Regions from separate parts of the Homo sapiens genome. Here all the other regions are linked to region 5. The links are contacts of gene promoters, found by promoter capture Hi-C in blood cells and fetal thymus (Javierre and others, 2016). All regions are on one chromosome and are shown on one strand. The core of a region is centred on a gene start or on the middle of the fragment in contact, and the rest is flanking DNA. Distances in the headings are between cores, read along the strand shown.

Evidence for each region. The method cuts DNA at HindIII sites, captures the fragments that hold promoters and counts their contacts. A CHiCAGO score of 5 or more calls a contact.
Region 1: a contact is called between a fragment that was not itself captured here and the fragment with the promoter of ABCD2 in region 5, in 1 of 17 cell types (total CD4 T cells). The highest score is 5.2, in total CD4 T cells.
Region 2: a fragment that was not itself captured here is called in contact with the fragment with the promoter of ABCD2 in region 5 in 4 of 17 cell types (naive CD4 T cells, total CD4 T cells, total CD8 T cells and 1 more); the score reaches 7.3 in naive CD4 T cells.
Region 3: a contact is called between a fragment that was not itself captured here and the fragment with the promoter of ABCD2 in region 5, in 4 of 17 cell types (naive CD4 T cells, total CD4 T cells, total CD8 T cells and 1 more). The highest score is 7.1, in naive CD4 T cells.
Region 4: a contact is called between a fragment that was not itself captured here and the fragment with the promoter of ABCD2 in region 5, in 5 of 17 cell types (naive CD4 T cells, total CD8 T cells, non-activated CD4 T cells and 2 more). The highest score is 10.8, in naive CD4 T cells.
Region 6: a contact is called between a fragment that was not itself captured here and the fragment with the promoter of ABCD2 in region 5, in 2 of 17 cell types (naive CD4 T cells and activated CD4 T cells). The highest score is 6.2, in naive CD4 T cells.

What each region holds. Positions count from the first base shown.
Region 1 is chr12:39,334,497-39,338,002 of GRCh38, forward strand. KIF21A (kinesin family member 21A) reads right to left here. Exons shown (of 38, transcript NM_001173464.2): 17 at 2,600-2,707. Among named protein-coding and RNA genes, the nearest start is that of KIF21A, 110 kb to the right of the region's middle. The HindIII fragment of the contact is 4,632 bases long and covers 1-3,506 here.
Region 2 is chr12:40,006,387-40,009,605 of GRCh38, forward strand. All of the region lies in intron 3 of SLC2A13 (solute carrier family 2 member 13), which reads right to left. Among named protein-coding and RNA genes, the nearest start is that of SLC2A13, 98 kb to the right of the region's middle. The HindIII fragment of the contact is 1,099 bases long and covers 1,249-2,347 here.
Region 3 is chr12:39,988,282-39,991,527 of GRCh38, forward strand. The region is part of intron 3 of SLC2A13 (solute carrier family 2 member 13); the gene reads right to left. Among named protein-coding and RNA genes, the nearest start is that of SLC2A13, 120 kb to the right of the region's middle. The HindIII fragment of the contact is 2,487 bases long and covers 510-2,996 here.
Region 4 is chr12:39,314,458-39,317,960 of GRCh38, forward strand. It overlaps KIF21A (kinesin family member 21A), which reads right to left. Exons shown (of 38, transcript NM_001173464.2): 30 at 1,475-1,513; 31 at 772-783. LOC101927019 (a long non-coding RNA gene) reads left to right here and starts at 1,475. Exons shown (of 3, transcript XR_007063276.1): 1 at 1,475-1,563. The HindIII fragment of the contact is 3,608 bases long and covers 225-3,503 here.
Region 5 is chr12:39,618,521-39,621,692 of GRCh38, forward strand. It overlaps ABCD2 (ATP binding cassette subfamily D member 2), which reads right to left and starts at 1,283. Exons shown (of 10, transcript NM_005164.4): 1 at 157-1,283. The coding sequence starts at 1,095. RefSeq lists enhancers at 685-764, 1,075-1,594, 2,824-2,903. The HindIII fragment of the contact is 3,952 bases long and covers 1-2,564 here.
Region 6 is chr12:40,123,646-40,126,989 of GRCh38, forward strand. No RefSeq gene overlaps it. Among named protein-coding and RNA genes, the nearest start is that of SLC2A13, 19 kb to the left of the region's middle. The HindIII fragment of the contact is 3,304 bases long and covers 372-3,344 here.

The sequences.
Region 1 (3,506 bases), core at 218-2,717, 280 kb before region 5:
TCTTAATTGCCTACCACAGTGACTGATATAAAAGCAAAATTAATATGTTTTTTAATTAATGAATTATCAGAAATTAAAATTATCATATAGTTTCAAACTTGTTACATTAAATTTCTTCCTATTAAAAACCAAATCTCAAGCTCATTCATATTTTTATATGGTATATAAATGTCACCCTGAACTTTCTAAGGGTTCAAAGATGAATATAACAAGGAACAATTTTAAAAGGAGGTCAATATGTACACAAGGCAACAAATAAAAGGGAGAGGGAGTATGAATGTTAGCTTTATATGTGACTAGCCAGCATTGTGTCTTTATAATAGAATATAGGCATCACATGTTATGGAAAAGATTCAAAAAGTTCATCCCAGGAGTTCAGTATTGGTCTCCCTTATCTTATATGAATTAGTAATAAAGAAATAGGTAGCATACACTGTAAAGAAATTATTCCCGTTGTTCAAAGGTTTTCATTAAATATAAAATAAACAGCCAAAAAATGGAAAGAACCCAAACGTCTATCAACTGATGAATGGACAAACAAAACATATTCTATCTATATAACCATAAAAAAAGAATGAAGTGCTGATACATGTTATAACATGGCTGAACCTTGAAAACATCGTGTTAAATAAAAGAAGCCAGACACAGCTGGGTGCAGTGGCTCACACCTTTGGGAGGCCGAGGCGGGGCGGATCACTTGAGGTCAGGAGTTTGACACCAGCCTGGCCAACATGGTGAAAACCCATCTCTACTAAAAATACAAAAATTAGCCAGGTGTGGTGGTGCATGCCTGTAGTCCCAGCTGCTCAGGAGGCTGAGGCAGGAGAATGGCTTGGACCTGGGAGGCGGAGGTTAGAGTGAGCCAAGATCATGCATTGCACTCCAGCCTGGGCGACAAAGTAAGACTCTGTCTCAAAAAAAAAAAAAAAAAAAAAAATCAAGACACAAAAGGCCACATCTGGTATGATTCAATTTATATGCAATGTCCACAGGGACAAAATGTAGATTAGTGGCTGCCAGGGGCCGGGGCAATGGTGAGTGACTACCAATGGGTATAGCGTATATTCCTGGAGTAATGAAAATTTTCTGTAATTAGATGGTGGTGATCATTGCACACTTTTGTGAATATACTAAAAACATGAATTGTACACTTTAAAAGGTAAATTTTAGGATAAGTTAATTATATCTCAACTTTTAAAACAATAACAAAAAAAGAATAGGCAATATGTTAGAATGTGCTTCTACTTGATTTCAGTAGGAACAAATCGATAAAAACACAATTTTAAATGCCCAGGAATTAACTGTGACAAATACACTGATTATTAAAATACACTGACATTGTAGGAGAAAAAAAGAAATAAACATAACCAAAATAGGGGAGTCATCTGGACAAAATATCCGCTATCCACTTTTCTACCTCACTACCCCCCTTTTCTCTATCCCCTTTCCTCTTTACATTCCAAAATAAATTTCCATTTTCTAAAATATGCTTTATGCTCGTATTTTTCCAGGGAGGATTTAGGAAAAGTTCAGCAAGTAAAAAGGAATAATGGCTGAAACCTAACCAATAATAAGGGAAAAAGTGATGGCCTCTTCTTTTTCAAAGAGGCAGTCTTGCTGTGTTGTTGTTCAGACTAGTCTAGAACTCCTGGGCTCAAAGCAATCCTCCGGCCTCAGTCTCTCAAAGTGCTGGCTGGGATTACAAGCATGAGCCACTGCACCCAGCTTCTTCTTTTAAGAAAAAAAAAATCATAACTATAATTTTTCACCTAAAAGAAATAATCACATTGCCAAAATTTTGGAAAGAAGAAGAAAAATAATCAACCATAACTTATAACCCTAACACAACTACAATTAGCACGTTGAGATGTATCCTTTGAATTTTCCTTCATTGAAATCAAGCATACATTTATTTGTAAAATGACCATGCTTTACACTTAATGCATGGTCATTTTTCAGATAAGTATACAGTTTCAAAATATAAATGGAATGTACCATAATTTCTTTAACCATTCCTCCTACTGTCAGGGATCTTGGTTGTTTTTACTTTTTTCACAATTACAAAGAATCCTACAGTGAAGATTTTGATGCATAGTATTTTTACTTGTTTTACATTATTTTCTTCATCTAAATTCATGGAAGTAGAATCTTGAGTCAAAGGATACAAAAATTTTGATAGTCCTTAGAAAAGCCTCTTCTAATAAGGGCTGGTTGTTAACTCTAGGATTATTTATAAGTACCTCTAGTGATAAAACATTCTTCAGAACCATCCTAAACTTGCTATCTTATATAATACTGCAACTAGTTCCTTGGTCATCCTAGAGATAACCAGTCATTCTTGCCATTTACTTCTATGTCATCATCTGGAAAATAAGCCTCAAATAAAATATATAATATTACAGTGTTTTTTATGAACTCTTATACTGAATTACCATAATCCACATACTGTAATAAATGACATTTTATAAAGTGTATGCTTATCTATTGTCCTTAACCTGCAATTAGTAGTTATGGTTACCAGAAATTTTTCCTCCATTTATTAAACAATCTTTTTCAACGTACAATTTTCTTATATAACTGAGAGTTAAAATCCACTTACATCTCTTTTACGTTGATCCTTTTTCAACTGAGCAATCTCTCTGTTTCTTCTAGACTCAGTCAGTCTGGCTTTCTCTTGTTCTTCTTTCATTTGTTTCATTAGGCGAACCTAACCAATTAGGTATAGACATCTATTGAAATTACTCTGTCACAACATTCATTAAATCAACCACATATATGGAAGTAAGTTCTTAGAATTCTGAATACTTAACATGGAAACATGCAGTTTTGCTGCACGTTTAAAGTGGGCAATTCTTATTTCTGTGGGATTCATATATTTCTATTTCTAATACATTTTTATTAAATTGCTTAGTATTCTATGCTTTTTGTATTCAATATTCAGTTGTTCTGCAACTTGAAATCTTGATACTTAGCTTACTATCAGTAGCTGTGTGACCTTGATCGAATTACTTTACCTCTCTAGGCTTTGGTTTGCTCATCTATAAAATGGAAATAATATTTCCACAGCATTGGATTTTTGTGAGAATTCAACCAGTTAACACCCACACAGCGTTTTAACAGTACCTGGCACTTGAATTCTCAACAACTTGATAAGCACTTAATAATTTTAGCTACTGTTGTTATCAGCAACTACACAACATAATAATCAAATGACAGTTATGTGCCTCATAACATTTAACTCAACAATGAACCACACTTAAGACAGTGGTTTCATAAGATTATAGTGGAGCTAAAAAATTCCTATTGCCTAGTGATGTAATAATGTCATAACATCACATTACAAAGCACTACACCCGTTTGCAGTAGTGCTGGTATAAACAACCCTACTGTGCTGCTAGTCATATTAAGTATAGTCCACACAATTATGTATAGTCCATGATACCTGATAAGGATAATAAATGACTATGCTATTGGTTTATGTATTTACTATACTATACTTTTTATAG
Region 2 (3,219 bases), core at 548-3,047, 390 kb after region 5:
CCTCCAGAAAACAGTCAATAATATGAATCTCTATCAAAGAGATGTGGTAAGGATTAAACAAAACAAAGCATGTAAAGCATTTGCCACCATAACTGGCACATAGTTTATGTTCATTAAATGTAAGCTTATTAGTAAGAAAATTATGTTAAAATGAAAATATAGTAACAAAATAATGAATAAATTCTAAGAGTCAGGTAAAATTTCTTTCTAATAGTCTAAGCAAAGAAAAAGAGGTATTAAGACAATAACAGTAGTAAAGATTTAGGTGAAGGTCTCCATATCAGAAGTGCAGGAAGCAAGTACAGTTAGATATAAACATTGTACTCACTTCCCTTATCCTCCTATCAATGGAAGCAATCCCACCTGTTCACTCAAGTCTCTCTGGAGAAAAAGTGGTTTACAAGAATAAACCCATGTCTACAGTGTCGGCTAGACAGATCTCAAATACACATAACAAATTCATACTCTCTGCTGCCAAGATCATATTTTTAATTCCTTCATAAATTTAATCATTAATAATATAAAGAAATTCCCATTTGAGTATTTGTAATGCTAGCAGATGCACACTTACTTCTGATTCTTCCAGTTTCCAGCAATGGGTCACTAATCAGTTTATTTATTTATAAAGAAGATGAGCCACATCTTTTAATTAGCTAACAGTCATGTGTGTTCAACTTTCGTTTCTTTCTTTCTTACTAAAGTTGACCCAGTATAAGAATTTCTTGAAACTAATGAGCCCCTCCCACCTTTGCTCTGTGGCTGAGAGAAGTGCCCAATGTGAAGTGGGCACATAGATGCTGCGAGAAGGGAACTCATTCATAATTTTCTATTAGAAACAGTGATGGAATTGCAGAAACTTTTGTTTCCTTATACATTAGGTTATTTGTCATATTTTCTATAAAAAACTTGCATTACTTTTAAAGATTCAAAATTTTAAGCACACGGTCTAGTAAGTATATGAAAGAAGAATCAGTAAATAGTTCAAGAATAGTATAAATATTCTAAAACTTCATAAGTTCTTTTTTGCTATCCAAAAAAAAGCCACACAAAATTAATTGACTGTCCACCAAACTATTTTATTTACAATTGCTGCTGAAAACAACTTTAAAACTTTTTTTTAAAAAAAGGTCATTACTATTTTAAAATTAAGCATAATCCCAGAACTAGACTCACATAGTTTTTAAATGATGATGGAAAAGGGTATCCTTATATAGTACATTGAAGAGTGTATACTGTTCTAATAAGATAAGCTTTGTTTTGAATTCTTAGTTCTTCTATTTCCTAACAGGGTAAACTTGGGCAAGATTGTTAACTTCTCTATCAATTTTTACAACTATAAAATGATAATAGTTCACATTTTAGTTATTTGGCTTGCTGTAAGAATTAAAAGAAAAAAATATGGCACAATACCTCACACATAGAAGCCATTAAATATGAGTGGTAGCATAATTATTCAAAGGAAGAAACACTATTCAAAGAAGGAAGATATCGTTTACCAGCCTTAAAGATTCCATACATGGAAAAACGCCTTATCTATATTACTTTTATAATATACAATGGGTTTTACGGGAAAACCCAGATTTAAAATATAAGCACTTTCTACTTCTGAGGTAGAGTCTGAGGTAATTAAACAGCATCAAAAGATTCAACTAGTTTAAACCAACATATGTATAATTCTGAACTAATCAGCATCTCAAAACATTTAAGGATTTTTTTTAAAAAACCTATCCAGATTTTTTAAAATTTTAGACTAAATATAGTAACACACCTGCTAAAATGATTCCTTATAACAACATTCTCTTATCTGAAATTCTGTTAATAAAAGTAGAACAGAGAAGCCAAAAAGATTTTACTAAGGCATAAAAAGCAGCAGGGTGGTGGTGATGACAGGAAGCTCCAGGGTCAAGATACCAAATGTTAAGAGTATGGAGAAACAATTGGCTGGGCACAGTGGCTCATGCCTGTAATCCCAGCACTTTGGAAGGCCAAGGCAGGCGGATCATGAAGTCAACAGATCGAGACCATCCTGGCTAACATGATGAAACCCCGTCTCTACTGAAAATACAAAAACAACATTAGCCAGACATGGTGGTGGGCACCTGTAGTCCCAGCTACTCGAGAGGCTGAGGTGGGAGAATGGCTTGAACCCAGGAGGCGGAGCTCGCTGTGAGCAGAGGTTTCACCACTACACTCCAGCCTGGGCGACAGAGCGAGACTGCGTCACTCCAAAAAAAAAAAAAAAGAATATGGAGAAACAATTAAACTAATCCTTCATATTGTAAGATGATACCTGAGCTTTGATTTCTAAAAGGTTGTGATTCGATGACTTCCAGCCAATATACTTTGAAGCTTAGAAAGAAATTACCATGGAAACAAATGAACTAAAATAACACTATAACACCATGAGATAAATGGTTGTGCACAATTCTACTTCTAGATATCTACCCTAGAGAAACACACATACATGTGCTCAAGAAAACATATACAAGGATGTTCATTACAGCACTGTTTATGATACCCCCAAATGTAATGCCTATTAATAAAAGAACACATAAACAGAATGTGACATTCCATATCTGGAATATCACAGAGAAGTTTAAAGGGATGGACTAGATTTATATAAGATCTGACTCAAATCAACTCAACTTGAAAGAAAGCAAACAAGTAACTTAATAATACATGCATTATGATACTATTACCATAAAAATTCTCTAGGTGTGTTTGTGTGTGTGTGTCTGGAAGAATATTCCCCAAATCTGTTATGGCCAGCAGTGGAGCAGAGAGGTATAAAATGCGTGGGATCGATGTGATGGGCAAAGAGGAATTTAGCTTTATCTGTCCTGTTCTAACCCTCCAAAGGGAGGCTGAATTTATTTATTGTTAACTTAAACTAATTAAAGAAGAAAAATGCCTGAAATCTTTGATCATAAATGATGAAAACATTTTACTAGCCAAATAGAATGTTTATGGCTTTAAACTGTTAGATAATATCTATAATATTGTGACTATTAATAGGAAATAGAACATTAAGGTTTTTTTGTTTGTTTGTTTTTGTTTTTTGAGACTGGGTCTTATTCTGTCACCTAGGCTGGAGTACAGTGGCAATGGTCATGGCTCACTACAGCCTTGACTCCCTGGGCTCAAGCAATTGTCCCACTTCAGCCACCCGAGTATCTGGGGCTTCAGGCATGTGCCACCACACCCAGCCAATTTTTTAAA
Region 3 (3,246 bases), core at 503-3,002, 370 kb after region 5:
ATACTTTGGCACATTGGTATTATCAATATTCTAATCATCAACAACATAATTGTTGAAAAAAATTATTGCATTGTTTTAATTTATATTACTTTAACTGGTGGAAAATAAAGATCTTTTCATATATCTATTAGTCAGATATGTTACTTATTGTGTGAGTTATCTTTCATGAAACTTGCCTGTTTTTATATTTAAAAAAAGAGGAAGGAAGGAAGGAGAAAAAGAAAGAAAGAATGAACGAAAGAAAGAAAGAAGAAAGAAAAAAGAAAACAAAGGAAAGAAAGAAAGAGAAAAAGAATGAATGAAAAAAAGAGGAAGAAGAAGAAGACTAGGAGGAGGAGGGGAAGGAGGAGGAGGGGGAGGAGAGGGAGAAAAGGAAGGAGGGAGGGAGGGAGGGAAGAAGGGAGGGAGGGAGGAAGGAAGGAAGGAAGGAAGGAAGGAAGGAAGGAAGGGGGGGAGGAAAATGCTGCTAAAGAGGAAACCAAGTTGTTAAATTCATAGCTTATGACCAAAGCTTAAGATTTTTATCATATATAAGTCAAAAACCTTTGAGTCATCTTTCATTCCTCTTCTTCTAATATCCCCATCCAATGCATCAGTAAATATTGTTAACTCTATACGTCGCCTCCTCTCACAACCCCCATAGCAATCACCTAGGCCTAGGCCACCAGCATCTCTTTCCCAAATTATTCCAACAGCCTCCAATTTAAGGGGCCAGATTCCACCATTGTCTCACTCCATGTACTCTGAGCGCAGGAGCCAGATGAGCCTTTGTAAACCTAAGTCTGCTGTGTCAGTCCTCTACTCATAACCCTTCAGTGGCTTCCCTTCTCATTCTTGAATAAAAGCCTAAATCCTCACAGTCCCTACATAATCTGGTCTTCTGCCCTTACCCCCTGAAACTCTCCATGCCAATTCTGCTTTACCCACACAGACTCAGATAGCCACATGGCTCACTCTCCTCACGTATTTTAGTCTTTTGAATACATGCCACCTCTCTGACTTTCCTGGACCAACCTATAAAAAGGTGCAACCCTCTTGCCTCAATATCCTCAACCATCCTTTATCAATCTGCTCATTAAATTTTACCTTTTATCACCATTATCTGTTAACATTTATTACCACCTTCATATGTTTATGTGTTCCTTGGTCACCCCTCCCCACTAGAAATAAAACTTTAAGGCAGGCTTCCTTTCATTCATCACTGCCAAATCTTCAGTGCCCCCAATGGTGCCTGGCATGTAACAGGTATTCATTTTCTGAGTGAATGAATAATCAAAAATGGATGTCTTGCTCTGGCTGGGTTATGGAGAATGCCAGGGAAGAAGACACACACAACCAATGACACTGAAACTAGGTCTTAAAAGAAGATTCAGGCTTGACTGACATGGAAAGGGCTAAAAATATCATCGCCATATGCACAACTTTTTTTCCACAAAGTCTTGCATAAGAATACACTGTAGGGAAGCAGACTTTTAATGTTCTAGTTGAGAGAATCCCCAGTAAAGAAATTAATCCCCATGATCCAGAAGAGGATCAAGGTTTGGGTAAACAAAAAGAAAATTGCCACTGCTGTCAGGAAATTTTACAGATGAGAAATTACTGTAAAATACATCAAGCTCCTAAATAATGTAAATGTGTTCTTAGTGATCGGTTTATGGTTGCATCCACACTTGGGTTTTTTGGCCACAAAATCACAATTTTATTCTCCTGGAGTTTTCTCTGATAGGACTATAGCTCTAATTTTTAACAGGAAGCCAGTGAGGAGAAAATATTATTCCAAGTCTAGGACTCCTTCCTTTTATATACAGTTCTATTGTTCTATGTCTACTCTAGTAACACCTATGGCCATGTATTCTGGAGTCATAACGATCAAATATTAGTTCCTTTTATTATATAAAGTAGTCTTACACATATTTATTTACTTCTTTATTTCTCATCTTCCTCCCACTGGAAAGTGAGTTCCTTCTAACAGAGCAGGAATGTCTCTATCTCTTCACAATATCCCTGAGGACAGAAGAGGGCCAAGCACACAGAGTACTCAATAAATGCTCAATGATTGAATGAATAACATTCACATGAGAGATAAATACATATTTTACATGGGGAGTGTGGACTTTAACTTCTAACACATGTTCCAGCAGTGCATTCTCCTCTGAGTAAGAGTTCTTCTACTTAACAACATTATCAAAAGTACAAGAAGGATGTGCCCACACTTGGATTTCTGGCTGTACTGTATTCTGGGGATAGTATCTCAGCACACACCAGGGAAGCACAAAATCTGGGGAATGGGTGCTCTATTCACCCATAGTGCTGAACAGTGCTGAAGGAAACAGGGCAAAAGCAGGCAAAGGGATTTTCTTGCAACCCTGGTTCTAGGGCTACGACTAGGTGGTTGTGACACTGTGGGGGGCCTCCATTGCCCCCTAGTGGCAGCTGTGCTTGGGACACTTCAATATATTAATATCCATACTTTATGTATGCATTATATGATCACAGTTTAGAAACTTTAAGCAATGCCAACTCTCTCTACAACAAAAGCTCTAATCAGAGCTTTTCAAACCTCCAAACTCACACAAACACATACTCAAATTAGTCTCAATTGTATTCGATTCTCAAACCTAGGCTTCAAGGTTCAAGTCTCCTTTTTTCATCAACGGAGCTCTCTCTCTCCCCCTGAAGTGTGTGCCAAACACTGATTTTCCTCCTGTAAAGTGAAGGCTTGGACCAGATTAGGTCTTTCCTAAAAATCAATCTGTGAGCCTGTACTGGTCCACAGAGAAGTTTCCTCTGATTTGCAGACAGTTATCTTGTTCCTTATACAGTCTTAACTTCACGGAGTTCAACCATGAAAGACTGTGTTTTTCTCTACTTACTTCACACAGCAGTGCTTTGTAGAACTGCCCACAGTTTCTCATAGATAGCAGAGTTCTCAAATCCTTTTCCTCAATTTGTGTAAGTCCATTTGCTTTAAAACTTCAATCTTATATCTGGGTTAAAGCTTTTTCCTTCATCTCAAATGGGCTCCAAGTGACATCGTAGCCCTACCACATGATAGTTTTTCAGGCCACTCCAGTGCTCTGCTCCCATCATCTTCCGTGTTCACCCCACTCCCCTGCTGCCATCATGCTCCAGTGTTCCTACTTAAGTAGACACAGGAGGCAGATTAGCAAGGACGCCTCATAAGTGCATGTCTAGCTAGGCAATGGGATGTTAGCCTCTCCCAGTCAAGCAGGTCCCTCTCATGTT
Region 4 (3,503 bases), core at 779-3,278, 300 kb before region 5:
AAGGTATGATTCTACAGAATAGTAGGTTGCTACTGTTAATTCTCAAACAGAAAATATATATGTATATATAGGTCAAAAAGCTGATTGTAAGAAAACAATTCATGTTAACAGCCTAAGAGCTATTTTCAATGTGCATTTAATAACAAATCTTCTTAAGAAAAAAGCTAAACAGTACCCTCAGATGTAATACTGTGTCTCCAAAGGTTTCTTTCCTTCAGATTACAAGCTTTATCCTAAGAATCTATTAAATGTTTCCCTGATGATGTAATATTCAACACAATTCTGTCATGTCAAAGGTTATAGTATCATAAAATACTCAGTAAATATTTGCCCCAGTAACTTATGTATGGCACAGTTATTTCCAGGAGATCAGGATGCCCTTTTTTCATTCTTATGTATTTTTATGTCATTGATTATTCAGTCTTTTGAGAAAAAAAATCTCAATATTAAACACAGTGTTTTATTACTTTAAAATGTTCTTAAATATTCAGAATATTAGGATTAATATTTTATATAAACTACCAAAGATAATAGAAACTTAATGATATTAGAAACATACAGCCATGGTATTTCTCTATTTGAATTAATCTATTCACATTTTGAAATATAAAATCAACTTTAAACAAGTTTAAGGTTAAATATGGCAAATTTGTACAACAGACTTGATCTGAAGGAGAGAAAAAAATAAACACTTATTTTTGTTCCATGCAAACCTGTAAGGTCTTTTGATACTGGAAATGAAATTAATTTCCTCTCCCTTCCCCTGCCTACCTTCTGGAGGATCTGCTGATGATCAGCAAAAATGGCCATAAAACAAGGAAAACAAGTGCAAAGAGGGAGGACATAAAATGATAATGGTGAAAGGGAATGAGACAGAGAGAAAGAGAAAGAGAAGTTAAGGACCCCCAGAAAAATCCATAAAATGAAAAAAAATAACAGTTATTTTTAAAGCTGCACCTATTCTTAAGAATATTTATTTTAAAAAATGCTTCCTTAGTGTTTATTTCCTATTCTTTTTAATTTTTGGTATAATAGTATCCTTTTTTTCTCTAGCATATTTTTATTTTTAATCATATAATCTTTTTACTTAAAATTGCTAAACCAACAAGAAAAAAATACCTTATCTACCTCACACACTTTGAGGCATTAGAAATACCTAATTGTTGAGAGTAAGAAATCTTCTTGACATCAATATTCATAAAACTTGATTTCTTTTAAAGAAAAGATTCAGATTACAGACAGAAAACAGGTATCACAATTTTTAAACTATTATACAAAAAAAACCACTACTTTATCTAAAAGGTATGACCACAAAAATGTATTAAAATTATCATGTTTAGAAATATTAGTGCATTTATATGATTTACAACAAGTGATGCATGCAACAAAAATGAGACTTGCTTAGAATTTCTAGGAAGGCACTTTAGAACATCAATGAAATTCCAGAATGTAGGAAAGGCAGGAAAGAAAGTACCTGTGTACCTCCGAGAGAGAGGAGTCACTTTCATCAGACCTATAGTGAAAGAGTTAGAATTATGAGAGAAAGAATACAGATGTCAACAGGTAAGGACACTGACTTTGGACTCAAAATCAACAGCATGAATAACAGATATATAGCAAACATTTCCTTCATAGTGCCCTGCTTTTCTACTTGCACTGGATATTAGCATGTTTAAAGTATAGCTAAGTTACGTAAAAAGTTTGATATTTATGTCTTCTAGCAAGACTTTGGGGGCTAAAATTTTCTAATACTGATATACAAAATCTATCCTCACTTCTAAAATTTAGGCCTTGCAGAAGAATAGTATCAAGTACATGAGATATAGCACTTCAAGGTTTGCTCTATTTAATTTGACTAGTCCTGGAAAAATTTTCCCATTTCAATAACTGTTGATCAATTTTATTCACCTTGATAATTATCACTTTAGATATAGACTCTAATGTTGAAGTTACACAAAATAGATTGTGTTTTCACATAGAAAGCAAGTCACTCAAAATTTAATAACTTTTGGCTTTAACTTATCTCAAAAACACTGAGTTCTTTTGACTAGGGAGCATCTGAGTAACAGCTGGGGTACTTTAGTGGGCTTTTAGAATGGACAAGTCACTTCTGTTAGCCCTACCTTGAGGCCTCCAAGACTGCAGTGAGTCTGGTTATTAAGAAAATCTATTCGACTGTACAACAGGCTTGAGGAGAATGAGGATATGGTGAGCGTTAGCATAGAATGTAACCTGAAACAATGTGGGAGATCTGCGTCTTGCTAGTGGGATATGGTTGCTTCAAAAAGGAGCCCCAGAGAAAGTAATGTAAAGGGGTAGTCAAGTTTTTGAAAGTGTAGAGCAGTCAGTTATTCTACATTTTAGTTTATAGAGATGACAACAGAGTCAAATTATTGGTAGCTCATAAAGTATTTCAGTAAAAAATATGGAACTGTGATTAGGTTGTCAAGATTATCAAAAGATTGACAGAAAATATTCTGACTGTGAAGGCAAGGTAGACACAAATTTAGCAACTCTTCGTATACCTAGTGAAACTTGACTTCCCAAAAGTATTCCTAATGTTCAACTTTTCTCAATTAATGACAGAAATAATTTGACAATGTTAAAGAGTATTTTGTTTAATAACACAGGAAAATATTTACCTACCTAGATCAATGTAAAGAACATATCTTCTACTAATTAAACCATATTAAAATCTAATGAAGGATCCATAAATAAAAGAATTATCCATAAATTAAGTATATTTATAATTCTTTAAAAACTACGGTATGATTCTCTAAGTTTATAGAGCCATTTAAAATGATCTAAACATGCCAGACAGACAGATCTTAAATGGCATCCTATAAATTTTAGAGATTATTGATTTATACAGGGAGGCAATAGCAGAAAACAATCATTATCATTCCAAGTCCAAGCAGACAAGTCAGAGTTAATAAATACCTTATGGCAGTATTGTTAGTATGGCATTCTTGCAAGAGAGATTCTGGCTCAATGTGTGGATACTTTGTCATTTCAAATTTGATGACATTTACATTTTCCACATCCCTCCAACTTCTCCACCCCTGCAACCCACTCCCAGTCCTACTCTCTCCATCCGTAAAGGTGATTTTTTATTCCAAGAACACAATTATTGAAATTTTGTGGTGAACTTGTCTAGAACAATCAGATGACAAAAACGTGTTGCACTTGTAACAATGGTCTTTGTAAACTGTTATATCCCCCAGAAGTAAAGTAATTTGCCTCTTTCCAACTCAGGCTATCTAAATTAGAGGCTTTTGTGGGCTCACAGAAGCTGAAGAATCTCCAAAAATTTAAACATCAAGTGGTCTCAAAGATTTTTCAGTTCTAATTTACTTGTAAAAGAAAAGGCAAGACAAGTGCTGAAGGCATACCAATACAAATCTACAACAGGGAATAATGTTCAGCAGGAAAATAATTTTCTCTAATTTTGGCTGCATGGTTCCTTTCCCATTGGAAAGATGCATAAAATATGGCAAGAGTTC
Region 5 (3,172 bases), core at 33-2,532:
GTAATGAAGCATATATTTTAATTCAGGTTTAGATGTCAGAGGAATCTAAGACACTAAAGAAGTGGGTCCATCGACAGGACAACAGATGGTATCTGGCACTGCAGTGGCAACTTGAACAGTTTCACATTTCACCCATCACCTTAATTTCTATCTTACCTTATGTCCTCTGTAAAAGGCAATTTCTTCTACATTGGCTATAATTCTCGAGTGCACATACCGCAAATAGCCTTTTCTATGTGCTTCCTCTGCCACCAGTTTGCCAAATTTGGGAGAACAGGCTTTTAACACTTTAGCAGTGGCATACACCACAAGTCCTGCTAGTAGGGTGGGCCCAATTGGGCTTGCTCCTCTGGATGTAGCAGTTTGAATGAGTGTATAGGAGGTCAGCATTACATCTAAAATAGGTTTGGTCAGATTGGAATACAAGTGAGCCACAGATTGGGAGAACATCATAATATCCTCCGTAAGAGATTGGTCAGGGTTTGCCAGCCTCCCATCCATATTGATCACTTTATAATAAGTCTGATTTGTAAAATAGGTTTCATAGGCGTGGTCTACTAGGCGAGTTCTGAAGGCCAAAGCCAATTTGCATTCCAGGTACCTTATTGCACTGTTGACGAAGGTAGCAGGGATGGCAATCATAAGCCACTTGATTAATTTGATGATGAAAGTCCGAGGCTTCTTTTCCACAATGCTTTTCACGATTTTTCCATCCAGACCAGCCACATAGATAGAAAGAAAGGTTCTTGAGATTAGAGCCACTGAGTGCAGGCAGAGCCACCCTGTTTCAGTGGTCACAAGTTTTGGAAACAAAATTTTCCGAAGTTCTAGTAGCTGTTTGAAGAAATCTGCATTCACTCCAGGCGAAGGTTTTTCACAAATGGTCTCGGTGCAATGCAGTATTTCTGTGTTCTCTGCAGCAGGGTAAGCTGCTGCTTTTTTCTTCCCGTGGCCAGATTGCTTTAAACGCTTGCCAATGATGGGATAGAGGGTTTTCAGAGCATATGCCGCAGCCACCAGGCAGGCAGCCCTCTTAGCAGCACTCGATCTGGTCCATTTCACTCGATCAGCTGCTGCATTTAGCATATGTGTCATTTTCCCAGTTACCCAAACCGGCTTCCAAAAGAATTCGTTTTAAAAGATCATGCTTCACAGAAATCCCCAGCAAATGTTTTAGAAAGTCCTACAGCGTCCCATAGTCTGCAGCGTTTCTCTTCCACTGTTGTGTTTTTAATTTTGTTCTGCTGTGACAGATGCAGCAGAGCTCAGACTCCGCTGCATCTACCGGGAATGATTCTCTCAGAAGCTCAAGCTGCACCAAGCTCCTCCCTCCCAGGCCCCTCATTGGCTGTGAGGGCGGTGGGACCTTGGAATCCTCGCAGCTTCCCTTTGAACCTTGAAAATGAGGAGAGAGCAAAGCGAATTACATCCTTCCTTAAACAGGAGTTCAGAGAGTTAAAATGTCTATTTTTGGAGAGGTCGAATCAGGCCATCTGCTGGCGAACAAAACCGGCTCTAGCTACTGAGCATGCTCAGTGTCACTTAGAAACCCACAGAAGTTTCAGAATATACATCACTTCGGTAAGATTTCAGTAGATACCGCAAACAGAAGAGCAAGCAGAAAGGGAGATTTCCAAGCGAACAAAACCGGCCCTAGCTACTGAGCATGCTCAATGTCACTTAGAAACCCGCAGAAGTTTCAGAATATACATCACTTCGGTAAGATTTCAGCAGCTACCGCAAACAGAAGAGCAAGCAGAAAGGGAGATTTGCAAGAGTTTTAATGAGACGAGGAGGGAGAAGGAACCACGAAAATGAGGGAGGAGGGACAAGAGGATCAACATAAAATGAATATGAAAAGGATATGGAATGAATCTGAAACGGATCAGAAAAGAAAGTGACAAGTGGGAGGGACACCGGAGAATGCCAAATATCAAATACACTTGGATCTGTTTTTCACAGATCCCCCCGGCTTTTTTGGGGGTCTGATTTCACAAAAGGTCTCAGAACCTAATAGACAAGTTGTAATCGAGGGTTTCCCTTGTAAATAAATAGGATAAAAGTCTTCCGTGTTACAGAAAATAATTATTTGCTATGCCTCTAGCCATTCTCCCTTTTTCCTCTGCATCCTACTTGTCCTTATGCTAAAAATCTTCCAGCCCCATAACTGGAGATCTGATGTACTCATATTTATTTACAAGGTGACGACTATTAAATAAATGAGAGCAATGTTTCATGTTTACTACTCCCATGTGTTAGGTAGTTTTTACTTGGAGTGGGGTAGCACTTATAGTGAAAGTTTAACCATTTGGGAATTCAGCTGGTGTTGGATGGTGGAAATAGCTTCTCTAGGACCTTACTTCATTTTTCAAGAATGCTTTGTCTTTTGCAGGTTTCTGCTTTGTTTGTTTTGTTTAGCTGTAGAGATAATCTACTGGCTACTTCCTATTTCCATTTGGTTATTTGATAAAAACTAAGAGTCTTAAAATTCTTCACATCCATAATGGAGGATTTAAATTGTTCAACAGTCAAGGACAATTCTGCATATTTTTGAAAATGTAAAAAGCTTTTTTTTTTTTTTTTTTTTTTTTTTTTATGAGACAGAGTCTCTCTCTGTCACCCAGGCTGGAGTGCAGTGGCACGATCTCAGCTCACTGCAGCCTCCGCCTCCCAGGTTGGTGCCTCAGCAGCCCGAGTAGCTGGGATTACGAGGGTGCGCCTACCATACTTGGCTAATTTCTGTAGTTTTAGTAGAGATGGGTTTTGCCATGTTTGCCAGGCTGGTCTCAACCTCCTGGCCTCAAGTGATCCACCTGCCTTAGCCTCCCAAAGTGCTCGGATTATAGACGTGGGCCACCACGCCCAGCCAAGAGCATTTTTTAAGTCAGGGCTGAGTATATTTTTGGATATGGAAAAACCATTTTTTTTGCTCTTCACTGTCCCCGCCCCCCATCTCATTAAAATTCTCGGAAATCTCCCTTTCTGCTTGCTCTTCTGCTTGTGGTATCTACTGAAATCTTACAAAAGTGATATATATTCTGAAACTTCTGGGGATTTCTAAGTGACACTGAGTATGCTCAGTAGCTACAGCCAGTTTTGTTCACCAGCAGCTGGCCCCCAACATACATACACATTTCCAGTCAATTAAAAGCTTAGGAAAATATGCATCAAG
Region 6 (3,344 bases), core at 774-3,273, 510 kb after region 5:
ATCCAAAAGAGCCAAAAGCTCTGGTTGTGAAAGCTCAAGTGTTGGGAAAGAGATGCTGAAATTGTCTTAAGATGATGTAATTATTTCCTTACTAAGTAAGCATCCTCTAACTATTAGAATATTTAGAATTAAGTACAGAACTGTTAAAGAAAATCAGAATTATTATATTAATATTTCTATGTTATGGAATCTGAGCATATTTGGAATGTCCTTGAAATAAAAAAGAAAATCGGCTTTTTAGAGAAACATATAAAACATTTAATTCTAATTTAAAATGATTTATTTTGTTATTGATTTAGACTTTAAGTCAAGCCTTTATTAAGGGTATCTATTAAAATATTTAAGAGAACTTAGGAATCAAATTATTTAAAAGCTTATCATCTTTTAAGAACTAATTTTATATTCGAGAGGATTTTAAGGTATACAAGTGAAGTATTAAAGAAGGAAATTGAATATTTTGTAAGTATAGCTTAAAAATATTTTAACATATTGAATGGAACCTATCAAACATTATTCAGAAACTGCTAAAATTTTGGCTCTGCACAGTGGCTCACGCCTATAATCCCAGCACTTTGGGAAGCCCAGACAGGAGGATCACTAGAGGCCTGGAGTTTGAGATCACCCTGGTCAACATAATGAGACCCCATTTCTACAAAAAAATAAAATAAATTATCTGGTTGTCATGCGCATGCCTCTAGTTCCAGCTAGTCAGGAGACTGAGGCAGGAGGATCCCTTGAGCCCATGAGTTCAAGGCTGCAGTGAGCCATAATTGCATCACTGCACTCCAGTCTGGGAAACAGAACAAGACCCTGTCTCAAAAATTAAAATTGGCTGGGCACGGTGGCTCAAGCCTGTAATCCTAGCACTTTGGGAGGCCGAGGCTGGTGGATTGCCTGAGCTCAGGAGCTTGAGACCAGCCTGCGCAACATGGTGAAAACCCGTCTCTACTAAAATACAAAAAAAAAAAAAAATTAGCCGGGTGTGGCGGTGTGCACCTGTAGTCCCAGCTACTCGGTAGGCTGAGGCAGGAGAATTGCTTGAACCTGGAAGACTGAGGCTGCAATGAGCCAAGATCATGCCACTGCACTCCAGCCTGGCAACAGAGTGAGACTCCATCTCAAAAAAAAAAAAAATTTAATTAAAATTAAATAAACTGCTAAAATGCAAAGTAGAATATATTTGTCTGTTGAACATAAAACTTTAAAGAAGAGCCTTAATAAACTGAATTTCAAGTTTTAATATCATAGGAAATGATTCTTTTGTCATGAAAAACTGTTCTTAAAGGTATAAATATCTCACATATAATAAGACCTTCCTGTTTTCATTATGAACTTTGTGCCACATTTCTATTGTCTCTTAAATTCCTTTGTTTTTAACCTACAAATTATCCTGTCATTGAGTTTTCAAGAACATAATTCTCAAGGTTGAAGAAAACTGTATATGTATATGTGTGTTTCTTTTATTAGACTCTGAGTTTCATGAAAGCAGACATTACATTATATCATTATATTCCTCATTACCTTCTATGGACTTGGTTTAGTGCTTGGAATAAAGTATGTTCTCCATAGTTACTCGCTAGGAAGTAGCAGTTGAACAAATTTGCTTGCTTTTCTTAAATAGAAATGTTCTCCAGTCCTTGTACACAATTAATCCCAGCATGAGGACCATTGGTTCTTGTACACAATTCTCAGAGACTTTTGGCTATTTAGCCTCTGGGTCCACCACTGACTGTTGTCCTTGATTCCTAGCAGATATGCCAGGGGCTTTTGGTCATAGTGGCACCAGAATTTCACAAAGAGACTGGGGAAACATACTATGTTTGCAAAAGGCAGCCTTAGAAGAAATGTTTGTCTACCTACTCCGTTATAGTTTACATCATGTAATTTTCATGGTTTTGCTTATTAATAACTTGCTTATTAACTATTTGCTTATTAATCTATTAACTCATTCATTTAACCATTCTTTTTTATGTATTTATTTAAATAGATACAAGGTCTTGTTCTGTTGCCCAGGCTAGTGTGCAGTGGCACAATCGTAGCTCACTGCATCCTCTAACTCCTGGGCTCAAGTAATCCTCTTGCCTCAGTATCCCTAGTACTTGAGACTCCAGGCACATGCCACCACATCCAGCTATTTTTTTTAATTTTTTAATTTTATGAGACAGAGGTCTTGCTATGTTGACCAGGGTGGTCTCAAACTCCTAGCCTCAAGCCATCCTCCTGTCTGGGTCTCCCAAAGTGCTGGGATTACATGTATGAGCCACCATGCCCAACTTAACCATTCTTTATTTTGTACCTACTGCATGCCAAGTACGATAGTAGGTCTTGTGATCACAGCAGTGAGCAGGAGAGACACAGTCCCTTCCCGCATAGAGCTTTTCTTTTGGTTTGGAATTAATTTCTAGTCTTAAGAAATAAAATAGGCTGGGTGCGGTGGCTCATGCCTATAATACCAGCACTTTGGGAGGCCCAGACGGGAGGATCACTTGAGCACAGGGATTTGAGACCAGCCTGGGGAACATAGGGAGACCCCGTCTCAACAACGACAACAAAAATGTGAAAATTAGCTGTGACCAGAACACGAGGCACCCTGCTAGGGGAAGGAAGGTGATGGAGAGTGAGATGCTTTTGGAAAAATAGCAGGGGTGAGATCTCTAGAGTCTTATGAACTTTTAATAAGTTTTTTGTTGAACCTGTTTGATGTTTTCCTCTCTTCTCTTAATCTTTTGAACTCTAGAATATGATACTAAATCATTAATTTAGTCTTCAATATATTGCATCTCTGCTCTTGCTAGCACTTTTAATTGCTACAGTGTAATAATAATTATTATTCATTTTTTAATTTCAAAAACAACTCATGTAATTTCGATTTTTACTGTTAATTCTGCTATCACCAGCTTCTCTGGGAGCTTTCAAGGCCTGCTTCTAAAATAATTTATCTAATGAACATTCCACCCATAGGTAATTTTGCATACATATTCTTACATTTGTTCCTTTGTTCCACAAGTTCCCTAAGGCAAGTTTTTTTCTCATTCCTACAAACAGACCATTGTTTTCACCACTTACCTCTCATGCCAACTGTAGCCCACCATGCCATTATAGTTATGTATTTTTCAAGATTACTTTATAATTTTTTAAAATTCCACTATTTATTTCTGCTTCTGAATTTCCTCATGTAGTCTTTTCCTGTTACTCAAAGAAACATACCTTTGAGGGGACTTTGGAGATTCTTTGACCTTCCACCTTTATTTTACCAACAAACTCTTTTAATTTATGATCCCTTATGCAATGTTTAAAAGCCTAATATATAATGCTTCCATTTCTTAGTATCTTTTCATTTAAAA